Linked DNA regions of Homo sapiens: region 2 is linked to region 1. The links are contacts of gene promoters, found by promoter capture Hi-C in blood cells and fetal thymus (Javierre and others, 2016). All regions are on one chromosome and are shown on one strand. Each heading gives the region's core, a stretch centred on a gene start or on the middle of the fragment in contact. The rest is flanking DNA. Distances are from core to core; before and after follow the strand shown.

Region 1 (5,205 bases), core at 1,459-3,958:
TATATATAATTTTTGAAATTAAATACATTCAGGTTCATGAAAAACTCAGGACATTGTCCTATTTTTTTTTCCTCATTTTATCAGGGTCATTTTTTCATCAACTAGCTGATTCACATAGAAAAATCCTGAAACACATATTATTTATCTTCAGAGAAATTCATGTTGATGTTACTAGTTGCATCAAATATCTCAGCCAGACAACATTATTTGTTGAATCTTCCAGGCAGCGGATTTTTTTAAAAGGGCCTGATTCCTGCCCTTAATAGCAAAAGGGTGCTGTTTTCAGAATAAGTAAACAGGGTATTAAACAAAAGAGAGATGTCCATCTTCTTGAAGAAATAGTGAAGAAGCAAGACAGCAAGGGGAAATGGCTTGTCGAGTTTCTTTAATATTTAGAAATAATCAAGATCATTTTCAAGGGTCAAGTACTCTCTCCCATTTTAAGAAAAACTCCTTCATTCAGGGAAATCATTTGAAACTTTAAAGATGTATCAACAAGTACCCCATAAATTTATACAAATAAAAAAGGACATATCAACAGGTGGCAAACCTGTTAAACACATGGTCTATTATGCAATACTTAATTGATTACTAATATTAATTGTGCACTCATTATATACAAAGTACTCCCCTCGATTCTGAGGCATGGGGAGAGAGTTGCAAAGATGAATAGGTCCCTATTTCATGGAATTTACAGTTTAGTAATCTGTAGATGGGTAAACAAACCACAATGAGTAGGTCAATCTAACAGAGGGACTGATCATTTGTTAAAAAGCAAATCGTGGGCTCATATGCAATCCATTATTTTCTTTAAAGAAGAATTAGTGGTCTTTTAAAAAAATATGTATGCTTCCTATGATGCATCACAACGACTCTTAGTCTGAACTAAATTTGCAGTCAGCCAGAAGATGTCCCAAATCATGTCCTGACTGCTGATCACACAGACTACCACCTGGTTTCAGCTGAAGATTCTTTTAATTGGATTTTTTTCTGTGTTTCTGTTTTTCACTGGATTTTGTTTTTCTCTGTTCCTCTCCCTGGAGGAAAGTGGAAATTTGGTTACTTTTTTGTGATGGAAGTATACTTTCATTTATTATTATTGTCGTTATTATTATGAATTTTGAAGCCGGACTTTTAAAAGCCTGGAAGGCTGCGGCGAATGGCATGTGAGAGGGGAGGTTTGCGGGAGGATACCAGCAGGTGGCGCGTGTCTCCTCCGGGCAGATTAGAATGCTTTGCTCAGGGCCAAGAATCCCGCAGGAATTAAGGGCAACTATCTGTGCAGTCAATTCAAGTGACACAGATCATGCCATACTTAAGTGCCGAGTCCATGAAGTCACCAGTTCCAGCCTGTTGTCTAGGCCATCAAACTTATGTATTACCACTTAAAAAACCAGCTCCCCTACTCCAAGGGTTGCATTACTTTCGTGCTTGACACCCCGACAACCCCGCACCCACCCCCCGACTCATTTTCCCCAAGCCAAGTCGCTCATAGGGGACAATCAAGCCTTAAGAATAGAGCAAAAATAAAGGCCCTGGAAAGTTGGACATGAAGCTTTAACTTCAGGAAAGGAATGGTATTCTATTAATCGTCCAGCTGGTCTGCCCTTAGGGTGTCAGATGTTCTCTGTCGCCCCTGGTGTGCCAGCATTGGCCTGGGTGCCACTGGGTGGCTGATGGCAGAATGTGAATTCACTTGCAAGCGGACATGTTCGTTTCCATGCCCCAAAGCGGGAAGAAGAAGGGCACAAGGAGACTTCGATGGTTCTTTCAGCTCAGACTCGAGCTGTGACTGATTTGCTGTTTGGGGTCACTGGCTTTCTAGCCTCTCCTGGCACCACCCAATTTCGGGGAGCAGCCAGCTCATCTTTCTCCTACGACAATGTCTTCTGTCCCCCATAAACACTGCCCTCATTTTGAGTTTTTCTTTCCTATGTCTGTAGCTTTCTTCTGCCGCTCAGCAAACACTCTGTCCCACTCGTATTCGTCCCTTGGCGCTGGCGTCTGGCCCAGGGGTACACTGTGAAGGAGGGCAACCCTAGATTCTGAGGGCCCTAGCTCGAATCTAGCGCCCCTCTAACTGCAGGGGTGACCTTAGATACATTTATTAACTTCCTCTGTAGACTCAGGGGAACAACTTTGGCACTCCTGGGGTCCCTGGATTAATGAGGTAACTTACGTAGACTCCCTAAACAAGCGTCTGGTTCATTGTAAGCGCCCAAATGCCAGGGGGCATCTGCAGGGATGACCCCATAGTGAATGAAAACTGCCTCTTGGGGATCTCTGGGTTAAACGGCCAGAATAAATCGCAGAATTGAGAGAACCCTCTCCTGCCCCAAACCTCACTGTACTGTAAATCCCATTCATTGCCTCCCGCCGTTTTATCCGTGTTCTCAGACCACCCCCCTATCCCCGCAACCTCCAGTCCCCTAAAGCCTCCTGGGCGGCAAAAGGACGCCCAGAGAGAGGTTCGGCGCCTCAGTTGCCCCGGAGCAGACGTCCAGCCCCGCCGTGTACCCGATTGCGGGGCGGATCGCGGCAAGGCGGCGGCGGCCGGCAGAATAGGCGCGGAGGAAGGCTCAGGCGGGGCAGACTGCGTGGGGGAAGGAGGAGGAGAGAGCAGACGGCGGAGGAGGGCAGAGCAGCCGGGGGGAGGGCGCAGGGGCGGGAGGAGACACATGCGCGCTGCCGCCGCCGCCGCCGCCGCCGCAGTCCTTAGCTTCCCGGGGACAGGAAACCTTCAAGACCGAGCTGCCACGGCCGCCTCCCCGCCCGCCCCCCATTCTACGCGCCTGCCCACACCCTCCTCCCCTCCTTCCAGCGCCTTTCGGTGGAGCACTGCGGCACTCAGCCCGAGCTGCCGTTTTCCCCTCGCGGGGAACGCTGTGACCCCCCCGCAGGAGCGGCGGGGCGGGGTGGGGGGGCCCGGGAGAAGATGGCGACGCCGGGAAGCGAACCCCAACCTTTCGTCCCGGCCCTTTCGGTAGCTACTCTGCACCCACTTCATCATCCCCACCACCACCACCACCACCATCAGCACCACGGAGGAACCGGCGCCCCCGGCGGGGCGGGTGGTGGCGGCGGTGGCAGCGGGGGCTTCAACCTGCCCTTGAACCGGGGTCTGGAGCGCGCGCTTGAGGAGGCGGCCAACTCCGGGGGGCTGAACCTGAGCGCCAGGAAATTGAAGGAATTTCCCCGTACCGCAGCCCCCGGGCACGACCTCTCGGACACGGTGCAGGCAGGTGAGTGAGGGCCGAGGGGCGGGCAGGGGTGTGGGTGCTGTCTGGGTGTCTGTCGTGCGTTCCCTAACGCGGTGGACAGTCGGAGATCTTGTCTTGCTGGGGGAGGGAGGGTCCATCGGCCCGTTGTCTCCCGAAGAAGGGACTCGCGTGGGCGCGGAAGAAGCGGGCCCTGGAGAGGGCACGGGGGCCCTGCCTGGTCCGGCGATGCAGTGCCAGGAGGGCAGGGGTGCGCCGGGCCTCTGCGCCTGAGAGCGAGGGGTCTCCGGCTCTCCACCCTGTGGCTGCCGCGCCAGGGAAGTAACCGCGGGGCTGGGACTTGCAGGCGCGCCGCGTGCGCGCAGTGTAAGTGGGAGGTTTCAGGCGGCTGTGTCGGCTTCCTGGGCCCCGCGCAGGGCTGGGAACTCCAGCGCGGACAGCGGCGTCGGCGCCTCCAACCAGTTCAAGCCGTCTTTGCATCGAGGCGTAGCCCATCCTGGTGGGGAAACCCAGACAAAGGTGGCACGCCCTCGGCCGAGCCAGGGGCATCGGCGCAGTGCCGCGAGCCCCCTCGGCGACATCGCCGAGCGATCGGGCAACTCGGTGCCGCCTGTGAGGTGCCCAAGTTTCCTCTCCCTGCGCTTGTGCGGGAAAAGAGCCGCCGGGCTTGTAGTGAATCCCAGTCGGCTGCCGCTTCGGAAGCGATCGGCCCTCTTCCTTCCGTGCCTTTTGCTCACCGCCCACACAGTTTGGGTCCTACCACCGAGGCTACCTGGTTCTCAGTTACCCAACCGTTGCGGGGGCCCCAGGAAAGGACGGCGTGGCATATTAAAGGCAAAGTAATTAACGTGAGCCTGTTTTCCTGTGTGAGCCCGGCAAGTTGTAACTCGCGCCAATAAGCAGCATAACTTTTTCAAGTTACGTCATGTGTTACATACTTCTAAAACGTCTGCTTTCTCTTTGGTAGTTGGAGTTCCAGGAGCGGGATCTATAAACAGGAAGGAGGGTGGTGGAATAGGATTGGGGCCTTAGGGTCTATACAGAACTGACTTGGTTTCCGGCCATCCGGTTCCGCTCCCTGGGGGAGGGTTTGTGTCATAGCAAGCGCCCAACATTTCCCAGGGCAGTGGGTGCTCCGTTTTGGAGCCGCTGCCCAGACCTCTTGGCTGTCATCGCCTCATGGCCCAGGGTCAGACCCCCTGGGTCTTGGATGGGTTGACTCTCATCACAGGAGCACCCAGTTTAATCTTGTAGTGGGCAAGGGAGCAGGCAGTGGGTTTTTGGAGGCTAGGTTTCCAGTGTCTTTTCCCCCTTTTAATTCAATAAACATTTATCTAGAGCCTTAATGAATATTTAGATACAGTTCTGAGTTCACTGGAGGCAAAGATGGCTCTCCAGGGTCATTAAACTTTGTAATTTGGATTTAGGGATAGTCAGGAATCGGCAAAAAAGAGGGAATTTCCAAAGTTGAGCTGTCAACAGCTGGGGAGTGTCTTTCAATAAGACCTCTTAGTTACATCTTCTCAAGTGGAACTTATTCCAAGAATTGCCTGAATCACTGACTTAAAAAACTACATTAAATTTTACTTCCCTTCTGCTATAGAGTGTACCGTGAGCTAGCTATGCTATGGTTGGCTATATCTGCAGAAAATAGAGCTGGCATGACTAATAATAATAGGTTTGTGTAGTTCAGTAAGGGGGCTTCATAGTTGTTCTACTTCAGTTATGCTAAGGATTATTTACAAAGTTAGGTGAACTTGATGTGTCTGCTGTGTTGGCATTTCTTTGAGAAGACCAGTGCTTTTAGGGATCACATCTTTTAGCTAAGACCTCGCCATGTGAAGTGGATGCTGAAAGTGTTCTTGTTGGCTTGTTTATGGCAAGCTTAAGTTGTGAGTTTTGCAGGTTTTTATTTATGAGCTCACTTGCACATGTTTTATGCTCAGGAAAATCTAACTGGTTAAAATTCAGAGGCTTTATGTTAATT
Region 2 (5,205 bases), core at 698-3,197, 1.4 Mb after region 1:
AGACATATGCTGAAATATCTATTTTCAACGAAGGTACACTAGGCTAAAGATACCAAGAAATTGGAGGAGGGTCAGAGAACTTAAACAAATGTTTAAAACAGGCCGGGTGCGGTGGCTCAAGCTTGTAATCCCAGCACTTTAGGAGGCCGAGGCGGGAGGATCACGAGGTCAGGAGATCGAGACCGTCCTGGCTAACACGGTGAAACCCCGTCTTTACTAAAAATACAAAAAATTAGCCGGACGTGGTGGCAGGCGCCTGCAGTCCCAGCTACTAGGGAGGCTGAGGCAGGAGAATGGCATGAACCCGGGAGGCGGAGCTTGCAGTGAGCCAAGATCGCGCCACTGCACTCCAGCCTGGGCGACAGAGCAAGACTCCGTCTCAAGGAAAAAAAAAAAAAAATGTGGAAAACAAATTGCTAAATTAAATGTGTGACCTTGAACGAGTTTCTTAAGACTCCGTACTTCTATGTCCTCATCTACAAAAGCAAAGGGTTGGACTAAGGTCCTTCCAAACTCTAGAGCTGCATTTCTTAATACCAGGGTAGAAGACAGCAACTGTTATAAAGAAAATAATATTGGAAATTTCCATAAGGAGAAATGAAGGCTTTTAAATGAACTTCCAAAAAGATAAAGATTTTGACTAGAATGAAAACGTATTTGTCACTAAATTCCCCATTTTCTAAAAACTAAATAGCACTCTTCTAAGATTCATAAGAAGGAAGTTCAAGGTCAAAAAGTCACTTCTATCGGGAAGCAAACTCACAGAACTCACTACCCCTAGGCTGAAAGTATGAACAACTTCAATAAAAATGAAAAAAAAAAAAAAAGGTAGGGGCGGGAGGGCCCTAAATCAATTCATACTATGACATGTATGAAGAGTTACTTCAGAAAAAAACCCAAAACTCTGGAATTGACTTAGGACACCAATAATGCCCTTCCACAGTTTTTTGTTGTCAAAGTTGGAAGGAAGATGTTTGTTTTCGAAGTTGTGGAGCCAACTCAAGTACACGGCTTTAGAACCAGACACCTCTGGGATTAAATCTCAGCTTTGATCTTACCTCCTATATGACCTAGTCCAAATTACTTGTTCTCTTAACCATAATATGTTCAACAATGATGCAGGTGTTGAATGACTTCCTCACAGTTGCTGAAAAACCTGAGAAACTACACGTAAAGCGCTTAGCACATTACCTGGCACACATCAAATATTCAAAACAAGGCCAGTAACTATTATGCTATAGCCTATCCAGAAATAAGGCTATACAAAAGATTATTTTCTTACCTCTCCAACTGGTTAGGTAGAAAACATAATCTTATTACTGCTATTAACAAGTAGAACAGTATACAACTACTTGGAGGAGAGGGGAAACTTCCCTACCTTGCCCCACAAAAGGCAAGTCAGTAAGCACCGCTGGTCCTCTGACATTCCCACCTATGACAGCTCCCAAGAAACACAAAAGTACTTTTGAAGGGCATTCCCCCCTGCCCAAAAAGGGGCGGCGCAAGTCTCAGCCCACCGTGCCAGACGCCGGAATGGCAGCAGAAAATGTCCTGACCCCCTCACCTCCACTCAGAGCCCACCTGCTCCCGCCCATCTCTTAGAAACTGCAGGAGCAGCCACGGCCGGGCCGCCGGGGATCCTCGCGGACTAAGGGCTGGGTCAGAGCCGCGCAAACATGGGCTCGCTCGTAGTCCTGGCGAGCAGCACTCCCAGGCAAGTCGCCCGAGGGCCTTGCAGGGCACCCAGAAAATGTCACTGCCGGCGAAGTGACCCCGAGCCGGGCCACGGGACCCCTCACACCTCACCCTTTCTCCTGCCGACCCTCGAGACGACAGCGGACTGGAAGGCATTACCTGAGCAGCAGCCCGCTGGGCCGTCCGAGGCCGGTGGTTCCGAAGGGTGGCCACGGCCACTAGCCTGCCGTAGAACATGGAGGCCGCCATTTCTGAGTCGGACCCCGTCCCCTCGGCGCCGCGCGCAGGCGCACAGGCGACAGGCGGCCCAAGGCGCAGCCTCTCTGCAGCGCTCACCTACGCCCCGCCTCGCGCCACCCGTTGGGGGCGGGGCCTCGGGTTAACACTGCAGCCGCTAGACCAGCTCCCTGGCGGGCGCGGAGCAAGCTTTGACCTTTGGAACTGGGCACCGCAGCCCCAATATCTGCCCTGCGGTCAGAGCAACCTGAACACTTCCTAGTGAATTGCAATGTAAAGGTGACCAGCGCCGCCACTTGGGTGATCTTAACTTCTCTCAGCCTCAGTTGCCTCATCTGTAAAATGTGTTTCATTCAAGAAATGATTACCCAGTGTCTACTTCGTGCTAAACAGCCTTGAGCCCTTGGCCTACAGCAATGAATAAAACCATTTGTGATGCTCAAAGAGAAGATGGTCGGTGTAACGCGCTTGTGATGCTCAAAGAGAAGATGGTCGGTGTCATGCGCTTCTGATGCTCAAAGAGATCGGTGTCACGCGCATCCGTGTGAAGACACCGCCAAACAGGGTGTGAGCAATAAGGCTGTTTATTTTAACTGGGTGCAGGCGGGCTGAGTCCGAAAAGAGAGTCAGCAAAGGGAGATAGGGGTGGGGCTGTTTTATAGGATTTGGATGGGTAGCGGAAAATTACAAAGGGGGTTTTTCTCTTACGGGCAGGGGCGGGGGTCACAAGGTGCTCAGTGGGGGAGGTTCTGAGCCAGGAGAAGGAATTTCACAAGGTTAATCACTCAGTTAAGGTGGGGCAGGAACAAATCACAATGGTGGAATGTCATCAGTTAAGGCAGGAACCGGCCAATTTCCCTTCTTTTGTGATTCTTCACTTGCTTCAGGCCATCTGGATGTACACGTGCAGGCTTGGGCTCAGAGGCCTGACAGTCGGCCACTAGTTACCAAAGCTGGTGGCAGGCTGGAGTCTCCAGGGAAGCTATTGATTGATTGATTGACTGATTGACAGGGTCTTGGTCTGTCACCCAGGCTGGAGTGCAGTGACGCGATCACAGCTCACTGCAGCCTCAACCTCCCATGCTCAAGGGATCCTCCCACCTCAGCCTCTGGAGTAGTTTGGGACCACAGATGTGTGTCACCAGGCTTGGTTGATTTTTTTATTTTATTTTTTTAGGGACAGAATCTCTCTATGTTGCCCAGGCTGGTCTCCAACTCGTGGGTTCAAGCGATCCTCCTGCCTCAGTCTCCCAAAGTGCTGGGATGACAGGTGTGGGCAACCACACCCAGCCAAGGATCTGGTTTTTGAAAAGATAAATAAATTTAACAAACCTCCAGCAAGACTGCAAAGAAAAAAGAAAAAGAGAAGACACAAATTACCAATGTGAGGAACATACCAGGGAATATAATTACAGAACCTTCAGACACCAAAAAGGAATGCCATAAATAACACCACATAACATAAATTTGACAACTTTGACAAGATGAGCGAATTCTTCAGAAGGCACAAATTACTACAAATAACCTAATATGAAAAGGTAATTTAAATAGTCCTCTAACTAGAGAAAATTGTAATTGTAATTTTTAAACTAAAAAAAAAAAAAACCTGAGATCTCCAGGCCCAAAAGCTTTCACTGATGAATTCTATAAAATGTTTACACAAGAATTAACACCAATTCCATACAGCCTCTTCCAGAAGATAGAAGAGGAAGGAACAGTTGCCAATGTACTGTATGAAGTTAGAATCACCCCACTACCAAAGCCAGCAAAAGACCGTACAAAAAGAAAAAAATACCAACACTTCTCATGAATATTGATGGAAAAATCCATAGCAAAATATTAGCAAATATAATTCAGAAATATATAAAAAGAATTGTACAATATGACCAAGTGGGATATATTCCAGAGATGTAAGTTTGTTTTAATATTTGAAAATATGTGTAATGCACTATATTAAGTTAGAAAAATCACATGATAATTTCGATCAAAACAAAAAAAGTAGCTGGGCACAATGGTTCATGCCTGTAATCCAAACACTTTGGGAGGCCGAGGTGGGAGGATTGCTTGAACCCAGGAGTTTGAGACCAAACTGGTTGGGCCACATAGCAAGACTTCATTTCTATAAATAATTTTAAAATTAGCCAGTCATGGTGGTGTACACCTGTGGTCCCAGCTACTCCAGAGACTGAGATGGGGGGGAAATCACTTGAGCCCAGGAGGTCCAGGCTGCAGTGAACCGTGATCGTGCCCCTGCACTCCAGCCTGAGTGACATAATGAGACCCCCATTACAAAAAAAAAAAAAAAACAGGCCAGGCATGGTAGCTCACGCCTGTAATCCCAGCACTTTGCGAGGCCGAGGCAGACAGATCATCTGAGGTCAGAAGTTTGAGACTAGCCTGACCAACACAGAGAAACCCCGTCTCTACTAAAAATACACAATTAGCTGGGTGTGGTGGCATGTGCCTGTAATTCCAGCTATTCAGGAGGCTGAGGCAGGAGAATCATTTGAACCAGGGAGGCAGAGGTTGCAGTGAGCCGAGATCGTGCCATTGCACTCCAGCCTGGGCAACAGGAGTGAAACTCCATCTCAAAAAAAAAAAAAACAAAAAAAGCATCTTACAAATTCCAACATTCATTCATGATTAAAAACTCAGATAAACAGGAATAGAGGGGAACTTCCTCATCTTGATAAACCGGATTACAAAAAACTTACGGCTAATATACTTAATGGTGAGAGAAGACTGAATGCTCTTCTCATAAGACTGGGAGCAAGGCAAGGGTGTTCGCTCTCACCACTTTTATTCAATATAGTGCTGGGAGTTCTTGTCAGTGCAATAGACAAGAAAAGCAATTACAAACATATGGAGTGAAAAGAAAGAAAGAAAACTCTCACTATTTACAGATAACATAATTGTTGCTATAGTTTGGATATCTGACCATCCAAACCTCATGGTGAAATCTGATTCTCCAATGTTAGAGGTGGGGCCTGGTGGAAGGTGTTTGGATCACGGAGGCCGATCCCTCATGAAGGGCTTGGTGCTGTCCTCTGGGTAATGAGAAGTTCTCATTGTATTGGCTCCTGTGAGAGTTCTCCCAAGAACTCATTGTTAAAAACAGCCTAGCACCTTCCCTCTTTCTCTCTCTCACTTCTGCTCTCTTCCAGTGTGATCTCTGCACATGCCAGCTCCCATTCACCCTCTGCCATTTGGGGAAGTTTCCTGAGTCCCTCACCAGAAGCAGATGCTGGCTCTAGGCTTTTTGTTTAGCCTGCA

What was found. Contacts are between HindIII fragments. The CHiCAGO score rates a contact against its expected background, and 5 or more counts as called.
Region 2: a contact is called between the fragment with the promoter of SUCLA2 here and the fragment with the promoter of LRCH1 in region 1, in 1 of 17 cell types (fetal thymus). The highest score is 5.3, in fetal thymus.

Annotation. Positions count from the first base shown.
Region 1 is chr13:46,550,462-46,555,666 of GRCh38, forward strand. LRCH1 (leucine rich repeats and calponin homology domain containing 1) reads left to right here and starts at 2,709. Exons shown (of 20, transcript NM_001164211.2): 1 at 2,709-3,242. The coding sequence starts at 2,936. RefSeq lists silencers at 2,653-2,842, 2,903-2,962 and enhancers at 3,166-3,866, 3,523-3,842. The HindIII fragment of the contact is 3,547 bases long and covers 1,554-5,100 here.
Region 2 is chr13:47,999,326-48,004,530 of GRCh38, forward strand. SUCLA2 (succinate-CoA ligase ADP-forming subunit beta) reads right to left here and starts at 1,948. Exons shown (of 11, transcript NM_003850.3): 1 at 1,855-1,948. The coding sequence starts at 1,944. SUCLA2-AS1 (SUCLA2 antisense RNA 1) reads left to right here and starts at 2,080. Exons shown (of 2, transcript NR_189308.1): 1 at 2,080-2,497; 2 at 3,110-3,366. RefSeq lists enhancers at 1,583-1,632, 1,653-1,702, 1,723-1,912, 2,289-3,488, 4,160-4,757 and a silencer at 2,033-2,142. The HindIII fragment of the contact is 2,000 bases long and covers 120-2,119 here.